4 separate regions of the Homo sapiens genome follow, and regions 2, 3 and 4 are each linked to region 1. The links are contacts of gene promoters, found by promoter capture Hi-C in human tissues and cell types (Jung and others, 2019). All regions are on one chromosome and are shown on one strand. Each heading gives the region's core, a stretch centred on a gene start or on the middle of the fragment in contact. The rest is flanking DNA. Distances are from core to core; before and after follow the strand shown. Region 1 holds the start of RBFA (ribosome binding factor A). Region 2 overlaps CTDP1-DT (CTDP1 divergent transcript). Region 3 overlaps CTDP1 (CTD phosphatase subunit 1). Region 4 has its middle 38 kb from the start of KCNG2.

Region 1 (2,877 bases), core at 118-2,617:
ATAACCCATGAGTTCTTGGTGATATGAATGAATTAATACATGGGGTGAAGAGACATATCCCTTGTGCAGAATGCAAACCACTTATGAGCAAAATTCCCCACTCATTAGGCATGGGCTGCACACAGCGACTTTCTCCCAGAGTACAGTAAGGAAAGGGGGCAAAAAGAGTAACTTTACGGTAGAGAAACCTGGCAAGCACCTCATGCAGGGGATCACGGCCAGCGTGGACCCTGGATACGGTGCGATGAGAATGGCCTTTACCTCTGTAGTCTTCCTCCCCAAAAGCCATAATCCACGTCTAAGCATTAAAAAAACAGGCACATTCCAACAGAGAGGCATCCTGCAAAGCACCTGACCAGTACCCCTCAAAACTGGCACAGCCATCAAAACCAGGGACAGTCTGGGACACTACCCCAGCCTAAGGAAACAAGACAATTCAATGTAACGTGGACCTTGGGTGGGCACCTGGGACAGGAAGGGACAGCAGGCAGAACCAAGGAAAAGTGAATAAAGTATGAGCTTCAGTTAGCAACACTCTTATCAATATCGGCTCATTAACTGGAACACGTTGGAAGCTAAAGTCCGACGCTAACACAGGGGGAGCTGGGTGCCAGGACACAGGAACGCGGTACTATTTTTGCAATTTTTCTGCAGGGTCTAAAACTGTCTTTAAAAGTAGTGTATTAAAGTAGAAAACATACAACCACCTACCATACTTAGAAGAACTAAAAGCAGTGTGAAAAGTCAATGTATTTTATTGTACTTATCTTTCATAATTTAAAAACACTAATTATCATGACAAGCTTTAGTCTTCAAATTCACACAGAAAGTCAACATTAGCAAGGAAATTCTTATATTTTTTCATTTTTCCTCATTTTCTGAAACTAATCTTCTGAAAAATACGTCTGGTGACAAGAATCAAAATAAACACACATTGTCACTTTGTTTTCTTAACCCGACACACGTCCACGAACACAAAAGCTGCAAATGCTGACAGTGAGAGCTAGAACTGCTGCAGACCCCAGGAGGCAGGAACTGGCGAGCTAGGCCGCATGGGCGCAAGAACGCGGATGAGCGGACACCGCAACCCGGGGACACCGCCCCCTAGGGAATACCGCGCCCAGGGACACCGCCCCCGCCGCATTACTTGGTTTTCGAGGCAAATTTCTTGAGCCAGTTCTTGCAGGAGACAGCAGAGCAGTGAAGTCCCCGCTCGCAGCCTGGAAATAGCGCAGCATCGCGGCTACGGAACAGGGCCCGGAGACCCGCGCGGGAGCGCCACAGCCCGCCCGCCGCAGCCCACATGGCGCGGCGCCGGGACCCGGAGCGAGCAGGGAGACAACGGGCGCAGGCGCGGAGCGACAACTGACGCGAGGGTGGCGGCGTGTGGGCGGGGCGACGGCGCAGAGCGGGAGGAAGACTCACGCCTGGCAGGCGGCGTGTGGGCGGGGCGATGATGCAGGGCGGGGCGATGATGCAGGGCGGGGCGAGGACAGACGCGAAGCTGACGGCGTGTGGGCGGGGCCACGGCGCGGGGCGGGACGAAGACGGGGTGCAAGGCGGGCGGGGCAACGACGGCGGAGGGGCGAAGGCCCGAGGGGGGCGGTAGGTGGGCGGGGCGAGGACAGACGCGAAGCTGACGGCGTGTGGACGGGGCGACGGCGAGGGACGGGGCAAAGACTGGACGCAAGAAGGGGCGGGGCGACAACGGCGGAGGGGCGAAGGCGCGAGGCGAACGGCGAGTGGGCGGGGTGAAGACCGACGCGAAGCGGGCGGTGGTTGGGCGGGGCGAAGACTGACGCGAGGCGGGCGGTGAATGGGCGGGGCGAAGACTGGCGCGAGGTGGGCGGTGGGTGGGCAGGGCGAAGACTGAAGCGAGAAGGGCAGCGCGAGGTGGGCGACTACCAGAGCGAAGCGAGCGGCGTGTAAGCGGGGTGAAGACAACGCCAGGTGGGCAGTGTGCGGGCGGGGGGGGCGGCAACGGGGGCGGGGCGAAGGACGACGCGAGGCGGGGCCGGCGGGAGCTGGGCGTGGGGAGGCCGCGTGGGCTGCGCGGAGGGTGTGCCACTCGGGGAAGCGTGGGAACCGCCTGGTTGCCTGGCGCTGCGTAGCTAGGAACACGTTTTGTTTAAATACTGGGAACTGACGTAGGCGGGTGCGCCGCACAAAGCAACGAAGGCATCGAAGCCTGGAGACCTGGGCAGGGCCGCTGTCGGCGGGAGGCTGCGAGGGGTCCGTCTGTTTCCGCCACTGGGCCCTCCAGGGCTTTGCTGCTGCGCCGCCTTCTCCCCGGGCACCTAGAGAAAGTCCCCAGATTGGGCGTCCTCCCCAGAAGTGGTCTCGCCCCGCCCGCCTCCCCAGAGTCAGCGTGGCCCAGCGGGGAAGCTGCTCCCCCCGGGCGTGGAAAGAGAAGTGAGCGCGACCGCAGTGTTGGGGATGCGTGGGCTGTGACTCCCCCGAGGCGGCTGCTGTGGTGTGAGACACGTCTGTGTGTGTGTGTGTGTGTGGGCGCGTGTGGATGTGTACATGTGTATGTGTGCATATGTACGTGTGTGTGCATGTGTGTGGACATGTATATGTGTGCATGTGCGTGCGCGTATATATGTGTGTGTGTATGCGTATGTATGTGTGTATATATTGTCAATCGAAGAAAACGACGAGACAAGTCTCTAATCATTTTAGGAGATTTATTTGCCAAAGTTAAGGACGCACCCAGGAGACAGGTCTACGCCTTTCTCCAAAAATGATTTTGAGGGCCCCAGATTTAAAGGGGAAAGGGCGGAGTATTGAGAAGCAGAGTTTTCACAAACAAACGGGCAGAGGAAAAACGTGGGGAATCTGCATTTTACATAAGATAACGCAGACAAAATGTGGTAG
Region 2 (2,877 bases), core at 266-2,765, 380 kb after region 1:
AAAACAATGCATATCTAACAGACATCTAAAATAGTTATAGAATATGTAATCTATACGTAATACACGCTGCGTAATACACGCTGCGTAATACGCACTGTGTAATACACGCTACGTAATACACGCTACGTAATGCTGCGTAATACACGCTACGTAATACACGCTGCATAATACATGCTACACACCACACGATGTTATGCATAAGTCTATCATGCCCTTATGGGATTAGTTTCCACCTGCTTAGAGAACATTCTTTAGAACTCCTTTAGGAAAGTTTTATTGGAGTTTAACTCTCAGTTTCTGTTTCTTTGAGAATGTTTTATTTGCTCTCATTGTGGAAAGACGGTTTGGGTAGACAGCAGTAGAATGACAATTTGTTTTTAGAAGACATGATTCCACTGGATTCCAGTTTCTATTTTTGCTGTCGAAAATCTGGGCATGGCACAGTGGCTCACGCCTGTAATCCCAACATTTTGGGAGGCCGAGGAGGGTGGATCACCTGAGGTCAGGAGTTCAAGACCAGCCTGGCCGACATGGTGAAATCCTGTCTCTACCGAAAATACAAAAATTAGCCAGGCATAATGGCACACTCCTGTAATCCTAGCTACTCGGGAGGCCAAGGCATGAGAATGGCTTGAACCTGTGAGGTGGAGGTTGCAGTGAGCCAAGACTGTGCCACTGGACTCCAACCTGGGTGACAGAGCAAGACTCTGTCTTGAATAAAACCAAAACAAAAAAAAAAAAGAAGAAAATAAAATCTGTTAGTCTTATTGTTGGCTTTATAGGTGATCTGTCTTCTGTTTGTCTTCGGTGCCCTGAATTTTTTTTTTTTCTTTTTTGAGACGGAGTTTTCGCTCTTGTCGCCCAGACTGGAGTGCAATGGAGCGATCTTGGCTCACTGCAACCTTAGCCTCCTGCCTCAGCCTCCCAGGTAGCTGGGATTACAGGTGCCCGCGACCATGCCCAGCTAATTTTTGTATTTTTAGCACAGACAAGGTTTCACCATGGTGGCCAGGCTGGTCTCAAACCCTTGACCTCAGGTGATCCACCCGCCTTAGCCTCCCGAAATGCTGGGAGTACAGGCGTGAGCCACCGTGCCTGGCCTCAGTGTTCTGACATTTTCTTGCATGTCAATGGAAGTGTCTATGGGTGGATTTCTTGCATGTGTCTATGGGTGGATTTCTTTTTATTTACTCTGTTTGGAATTTATTGTGTATTCACGACTCTCATCAATTCTTGCAGGTTTTCAAGCATCATCTCTTTAATTAATCATTTTTCCCTCTTCCTTTTTGGTCTCACTTCCTAGAACTATGAATAGATATTCGTTAGACCTTATTCTATAATCTCTTCCTCTTAATCTTTCAAATATTTTTTGCCTCCCTGTTTTTCTGTTATGCATTCTGCACAATTTCTCCAGCTCTAACCTCTAATTTTGGTGCCTCTGCGGGTCTGAGTCTGTTTTGTGTTCGGGTCGTGCGTGCTGACTTTTGCTCACGGACGCGTTCCTCTGCGTGTGTTTGCTGCTCTTTGGCCGTGAGCTCAGGTTTGCCTGATGTCACTCTGTGAGAACCCGGTGGTGTTTACTACTGGCTCAAGCTGGGGACCCCAGTGGGGAGCACATTTGCCTCCTCTGCTGGGCCTGGAGCCCCAGCTCACCTCCTGGCCCAGACAACCTTTAGGTGGCTCTGATGTGGCAAGTCCTCCCAGGGCAACCTCACCTTTTCCATTTCATTATGGGATTTCCCTCCTCTGAATTCAGGTCACGAAGGGAGCCTTGAAGAAGTCCCTTATTTCATTCAAGCCCAATACTGGCAGGAAAACCAAGTCTCAGGCAGGATCGGATGGTTTTGTTGGTGAGGACCCTTCCAAGTGTCTGGCCTGCCTTACTGCCATAAGTAGACATCCCCTCCGATTTTTCTTCGGTGTGTTTTTAACTGCATAAAATAGGCCAACAGGGAAAACCAGTTTCTTCCTCCCCCTCCTCCTCCTCTTCCTCCTCTTCTTCCTTTTGGGCTGGGTTTTGAGACAGAGCACGCATTCCAGAAGAGGCATGTGTTTGCGGTTGCTTTTATTTCGATACATGAGGCAGAGAAAAAGAGCAAAATGTGGAAAGTCCCCGTGAGTGGAGGGGCCCTGCTGATGTGACGCGGAGAAAGCGATGCCTCCACTGTCAGAATCTTGTCATTGTGGGGAGAGAGCTCCGTAAGACAAGGTGTCTATAAGCAAAAAGTACATCTGCATGGAAGATGCTATTCCATGATGGATTACCGTCAGAACAGTTTGCACCGTGCATCCTAACACACAGGCCAGTTGAATCTGCTCTATAAGGTGCGTGAGCATGGGGGCCGTTCCAGCTCAATCGACTATTCCCTGACTCTTTTTACCGCTCCCATGGGCTTGTCTGGATGGCACATTACTCTCAGTAAAACGGAGGAATAATGAAAACAAATGCGCTGCACTGTGGCTAAAGGGAACTGCTACCTTTTTCGTCGTTTTGCTTTTCTGTTTTTATGTTTTAAAGGAGGTGGTAGCGCACATGTGGACTTTGGAATGAAAAAGACAACCGGGAAAACGTAGATGGCTCGTGTGCTGTCTAGGAGAAGGCCGCTCCCGAGAGGTGAGGACCGCATCTGTGATTCTGTGGCCCGTGAGAGCAGCTGGTGCGCCCTGCAGGGCTGACAGGGCCGAGGATAGAACGTGCCGCTTTCTAATCACCGGTCAGAAGCGTGGGCCGGAACAGAGGGTCACGAGCCCTGAGCCCACGCGCACACACCGCCAAAAGCTTCTAGGGTGCATTTGATTGTGGTGGTAACTCTAGCGACTCTGAGTTAGAAGGATCCCGTTTTGTCTTAGAATTTTCACCAGGTGTGTTTTTAATTA
Region 3 (2,877 bases), core at 250-2,749, 330 kb after region 1:
GTTTCACCGCATTAGCCAGGATGGTCTTGATCTCCTGACCTCGTGATCCACCCGCCTTGTCCTCCCAAAGTGCTGGAATTATAGGTGTGAGCCACCGCGCCTGGCCAGGAGATGTAGTTCTTAAATAATAAGACTTGAAGCTGGAAATCATTTCTTGAGCCCTGGGCTGCAGGGTGGATGTGGTGTCAGCAGCATGAAAACAACATTCCTCTCCTGTACGTCTCCATCAGAGCTCTTGGGTGACCAGGTGCATGGTCAATGAGCAGGAATATTTCTTAGAAGAATCTCTCTTTCTGAGTAACAGGTCTCAAGAGCGGGCTTAGAATGGTCAGTAAACCATGCTGTGAACAGAGGTGCTGTCATCCAGCCTTTGTTGTTCCATGGATGGAGCACAGGCAGAGGAGATTTAGCATCATTCTTAAGGGCCCTGGGATTTTCAGAATGGCAAATGAGCACTGGCTTCAACTTAAAGTCACCAGCTGCATTAGTTAGTCTCCAACGAGAGAGTCAGCCTGTCCTTTGAAGCCAGACACTGACTTCTCCTCTCCAGCTATGAAAGTCCTAGACGGCATCTTCTTCCAACAGAAGGCTGTTTTGTCTGCACTGAAAATCTGTTGTTTAGCGTGTTTAGTTTCATCAGTGATCTCAGCCTATCTCCAGGGGAACTTGCCGCAGTTTCTCCAACAGCACCTGCTGCTTCACCTTCACTTTTGTGTTACGGAGACGGCTTCTTCCTTCACCCTCATGAACCAACCTGTGCTGGTTTCCAGCTTTTCTTCTGCAGCTTCCTCACCCCTCTCAACCTTCACAGAATTGAAGACAGTTGGGGCCTTGCTCTGGATTAGGCTTTGGCTTAAGGGAATGTTGTGACTGGTTTGATCTTCTACTCAGACCACTAAAACTTTCTCTTTCTCAGCAATAAGGCTGTTTCACTGTCTCATCATCTGTGTGTTCACTGAAGTAGTATTTTTAGTTTGCTTCAAGAACTTTTCCTTTGCATTCACACCTTGGCTGTTTAGTGCAAGAGGACCAGCTTGCAGCCTTTCCTGGCTTCTGGCGTGCATTCCTCACTAAGCATAATCACGTCTACCTTTTGATTTAAAGTGAGAGACTGGTGAGCCTTCCTCCCACTTGAACACTCAGAGGTCACTGTAGGGTTACTACGCTGGCCTAATTTCAATACTGTTATGTCTCAGGGAATAGGGAGGCCTGAGCACCGGGACAGAGACAGGGAATGGCCAGTTGGTGGAGCAGTCAGGACACACACATCTACCCATTACGTTTGCCGTCTTATGTGGGTGTGGTTCGTGGCACCCCAAAACAATGACAACAGTGACCTCAAAGATCACTGACCACAAATCCCTATAGCTGACAGAACACTGATGAAGCAACTATGACAACAGTGACCTCAAAGATCACTGACTACAGCTCCCTGTAACAGCAGAGCACTAACGAGGAGGCTGAAGTACACGGGAAATTTCCAGAGCGTGGCACAACACCTGGGGGCACATGCTGCTGGAAAATGGCACCTGCAGACGTGCTCGCCAGGTTGCTCCGAGCCTCCTCCCTGTGAACACAGTATCAGTGAAGCACCATAAAATGAGGTGTGCCTGTAAAACTCACTCAATGCCCAACTTCAAAGGCACAATAAAAGCAGGAAACAGCCACAGCAACTCATGAAGGTATATGTGTGCAGAATGTATTTTCATAAAGTCCTTACATCCTTCAAAATACCTAGTTTGTCAGAAAATAGGCATTAAAAAAAAAACCTTGGGCGGGCGCGGTGGCTCATGCCTGTAATCCCAGCACTTTGGGAGGCCGAGGCAGGCGGATCACAAAGTCAGGAGATTGAGACCATCCTGGCTAACACGGTGAAACCCCGTCTCTACTAAAAAAAATACAAAAAATTAGCCAGGTGTGGTGGCGGGCACCTGTAGTCCCAGCTACTTGGGAGTCTGAGGGAGGAGAATGGCGTGAACTCGGGAGGTAGAGCTTGCAGTGAGCCAAGATCCTGCCACTGCACTCCAGCCTGGGTGACAGAGTGAGGCTCTGTCTCAAAAACAAACAAACAAAAAACCTTAGTGAGTAGAGTAGCGGGTATGAACGAAGCAATCTGAAAATATCTAGTCACAGTTTATACTGCACAGAAGAATAGACTGCTGTGTAAGATGCCACGAGACACACAAATGACTAACACAGCCAGAAATAGAAGCTGTTTTGTGGGTTAGACCTGAATTCCGGCCCTAAACAAACTCCTGTGCAGCACGGCAGTTACTCGATTCTCTCCATTCTGCAAACAGCATAAAACGCGAGAGTTTGTGCCACCTGGGGGGTCTGTGCAGCTCACCCTGACCACCTGACTGACTTACAAGGCCAAACTTAACCAAACTTCTTCCAGATGAAGCTTGTCACAAATTTGACTTATGTGTAACTGTCATCAATCTGTCCCAGCTGTTGGTACCACGCCCCGGCATTCAGCAGCGGAGGATGCCCGGCTCCGTGGTGCATCCTCCAGCCTGCTGGGTGTCTGCTATTGGGACCTGCAGGATCCCCAGGAACCTTTAGAACTGGTAAGGTCAGAACTGATGGGCCTCTGAAATCCCAAATCTAACGCCAGAGTCCACATACTGTTCAATAGCAAACACTTAAAAAACAACTCAGTGTTGGTGAGGGCCTCCCTGATGGCCACCGTCTAGGCCGACACAAGCCTCTGCGCAAGCCTCTGGGCACAGACATTCAAAGCCTTCGGTCTAGAAATTCAGCTTCTCTGGTTCCATCCTGAGGACACAGCTGAGGCACAGGAAGGGTTTCGTGTGCATTAAACAGGGTTCTGCCCTCACCCTGCATTTCCCCGTGTTTCCCCTGGAGAATGTACGC
Region 4 (2,877 bases), core at 178-2,677, 270 kb after region 1:
CCTGCAAGATACTGGGAATTGAGAACCTGCATTTATTCATTCAACAAACTTTTGTTGAACAGATATTATGAGCCAGTTCTGTGTTGAGAGTAGAAGCTACATCAACCAACCAGACTGCATTCCTGCTGTCATGGTGCAGTCAGCCAAAAAAACAAAACAAAAAGGCAAAAATCAAAACAACCCCAAATTCAGCAAGGGCTATAAGGAGGGGAGGAGACAGGGTGGTCAGTAGGTATAAAATCAGTAAGCATATGGTCAAACTCAACACTACCATCAATCAACTGGATATCATTAACATCTACAGACAATGTTATCCACCAGCAGCACAGTAACGTTCTTCTCAGGCTCACAGGAACATTCATGCAGACAGGCCATCAATCACACCTCAGCAAACTTAAAAGAGGAGAAATCATGCAGTGTCTGCTCTCAGATCACAGTGAAATTACAGCAAAAATCAGTAATAGAAAGATAACTGAAAAATCACAAAAACATGCAGCAATTAAACAACACATTTCTAAATAACATACAGGACAAAGAAGTAATACCAAGAGAAATTTAAAAATATTTTGAAGTAAATGAAAATGAAAACACAAGTTACCAAAATTTGTGGGATGCAGCAAAAGCAGTACTGCAGAGAAATTCAGAGTACTGAATGCATATATTAGAAAAGATCTAAAATCAATAACTGAAGCTTCCACCTGAATAAGACAAGAATAACAAATTAAATTCAAAGTAGAAGTAATAGGCTGGGTGCGGTGGCTCACGCCTGTAATCCCCAGCACTTTAGGAGGCCAAGGCAGGCAGATCACCTGAAGTCAGGAGTTTGAGACCAGACTGGCCAATGTGGTGAAACCCCGTCTCTACTAAAAATACAAAAATTAGCTGGGCGTGGTGGTGCATGCCTGTAGTCCCAGCTACTCAGGAGGCTGAGGCAGGAGAATCACTTGAACCCAGAAGGTGGAGGGTGCAGTGAGCCAAGATTGCACCACTGCACTCTAGCCTGGGTGACAGAGTGAGATTCCATCTCAAAAAACAACAATCACTAAGTAGAAGTGATAAAAAAAATTAGAGATGAAAACAATGAAATTGAAAATAGGAAATCAATACAGAAAAGTAAGGAAGCCAGAAGCTAGTTCTTTGAAAAGAAAGAAAATTGATATCTCTTTAGCCAGGGTAAGAAAAAAAAAAAAAGGACACAAACTGCTAATATCAAAAAATGAGAGGGGACATCACTACAGATCCCATAGACATTAAAAGGATAATAAGGGAATACTATGAACAACTCTATGCCCACAAATGTGATAACCCAGATGAAATGGACCAATTCCTTCAAAGACACAATCTGCTGAAACTCATATAAGAACCAGTTTGTCTAAATAGGCCAATATCTATTGAAGAAATTGAATCAATAATAAACAACTTTCCAAAGCAGAAAGCATCAAGCCCAGATGAGTTTACTGGTGAATTTTGCCAAATATTTAAGGAAGAAATTATATGAAATTTCTATCATCTCCTTCAGAAGACAGAAGCAGAGGGAATACTTCCAAGCTCATTCTATGAGACCAGCATCACTCTATTACACAAACCAGATGAAAATAAGAAAACTATAGACCAATATCTCTCATGAACACAGATGCAAAATCGTCAACCAAATCTTATCCAACTGAAAGCTACAATGCATAAAAAGAATTCTACAGCAAGACTATTGGGATTTACCCCAGACTACTGGGATTTGAAAATCAATGTAACCCATCACAGCAACAACAAAAAAATTACGTGAGCGTATCAACAGATGCAGAAAAAGCATCTGACAAAAATTCAATACTTATTCATGATAAAACTCAGCAAACTAGGAATAAAGGGGAACTTCAACTTGACACAGAAAATCTATAATAATGGTGAGAAATGCAAAGCTTTCCCATTAAGATCAGGAACAAGGCAAGGACATCCTCTCACCACTCCTTTTCAACATCATACTGGAAGTCTCAACTAATGCAGTAAGAAAAGGAAATAAAAAGTATACTGATTGGGAGCGAAGAAATAAAACTCTTTGCAGATGACATAATTGTCTGTGTAGAAAATCCAAAAGAATTGGACTGCCCCGACCAAGTGCCTCCTGGAACTACAGCAAGTTTTCAGCATGCAAGGTTAATACACAAAGTCAACTGCTTTCCTATATACCAGCAATGAACAAGTGGAATTTGGAATTAAAAACATAGTATCACTTACATTACCTGTGCCAAATAAAATACTTTTGTATAAATCTAACTATATATAGATAAGATCTCTATCAGGAAAACTACAAAATTCTGATCAACAAAGTCAAGGAAGAATGAAACAGAGAGATATTCTATGTACATGGATAGGAAGAATCAAGTCTTTCAAGGTGTCAGTTCTTCCCAATTTGATCTACACATTCAATGCAATCCTAATCAAAATCCTAGCAAGTTATCTTGTGGATACTGACAAACTGACTTTAAAGTTTATATGGAGAGGCAATGACCCCGAATACCCAACAAAATACTGAAGGAGAAGAAAGAAGCTGGAGGATGGACAGTACCCGACCTCAAGACTTAACTAAAGCGACAGTAATTAAGACACTGAGGTACTGGTGAAAGAAAGACAAATGGATTGATGAAACAGACCCACAAAGATACAGTCGGCTGATCTTTCACAAGTGAGCAAAGGGAATACAGTGGAGAAAAGAGTCTTTTTAACAAATGGTTCTGGAACAACTGGATGTCCATAAGCAAAGAAATGAATGTTGACACACACATTACACCTTTCACAAAAATTGGCTGAAAATAGATCAGAGACCTAACTATAAAATGCAAAACTATGAAACCCCTAGGGAATACCTACATGATCTAGGTATGA

What was found. The method cuts DNA at HindIII sites, captures the fragments that hold promoters and counts their contacts. A contact is called where the count stands out against the background at its distance.
Region 2: a fragment that was not itself captured here is called in contact with the fragment with the promoter of RBFA in region 1 in 2 of the 25 tissues and cell types used here (lymphoblastoid cells and spleen).
Region 3: a fragment that was not itself captured here is called in contact with the fragment with the promoter of RBFA in region 1 in 1 of the 25 tissues and cell types used here (lymphoblastoid cells).
Region 4: a contact is called between a fragment that was not itself captured here and the fragment with the promoter of RBFA in region 1, in 3 of the 25 tissues and cell types used here (IMR-90 fibroblasts, lymphoblastoid cells and mesenchymal stem cells).

What each region holds. Positions count from the first base shown.
Region 1 is chr18:80,032,924-80,035,800 of GRCh38, reverse strand. It overlaps RBFA (ribosome binding factor A), which reads right to left and starts at 1,367. Exons shown (of 7, transcript NM_024805.3): 1 at 1,148-1,367. The coding sequence starts at 1,305. It also overlaps a transcript of TXNL4A not described here. RefSeq lists silencers at 1,172-1,321, 1,432-1,511, 1,522-1,841, 1,724-1,880, 1,912-2,081. The HindIII fragment of the contact is 12,317 bases long and covers 1-2,877 here.
Region 2 is chr18:79,649,931-79,652,807 of GRCh38, reverse strand. The region is part of intron 2 of CTDP1-DT (CTDP1 divergent transcript); the gene reads left to right. Among named protein-coding and RNA genes, the nearest start is that of CTDP1-DT, 28 kb to the left of the region's middle. The HindIII fragment of the contact is 4,983 bases long and covers 1-2,877 here.
Region 3 is chr18:79,698,458-79,701,334 of GRCh38, reverse strand. All of the region lies in intron 4 of CTDP1 (CTD phosphatase subunit 1), which reads right to left. Among named protein-coding and RNA genes, the nearest start is that of CTDP1, 20 kb to the right of the region's middle. RefSeq lists an enhancer at 2,531-2,877. The HindIII fragment of the contact is 9,627 bases long and covers 1-2,877 here.
Region 4 is chr18:79,758,014-79,760,890 of GRCh38, reverse strand. No RefSeq gene overlaps it. Among named protein-coding and RNA genes, the nearest start is that of KCNG2, 38 kb to the left of the region's middle. The HindIII fragment of the contact is 3,286 bases long and covers 1-2,877 here.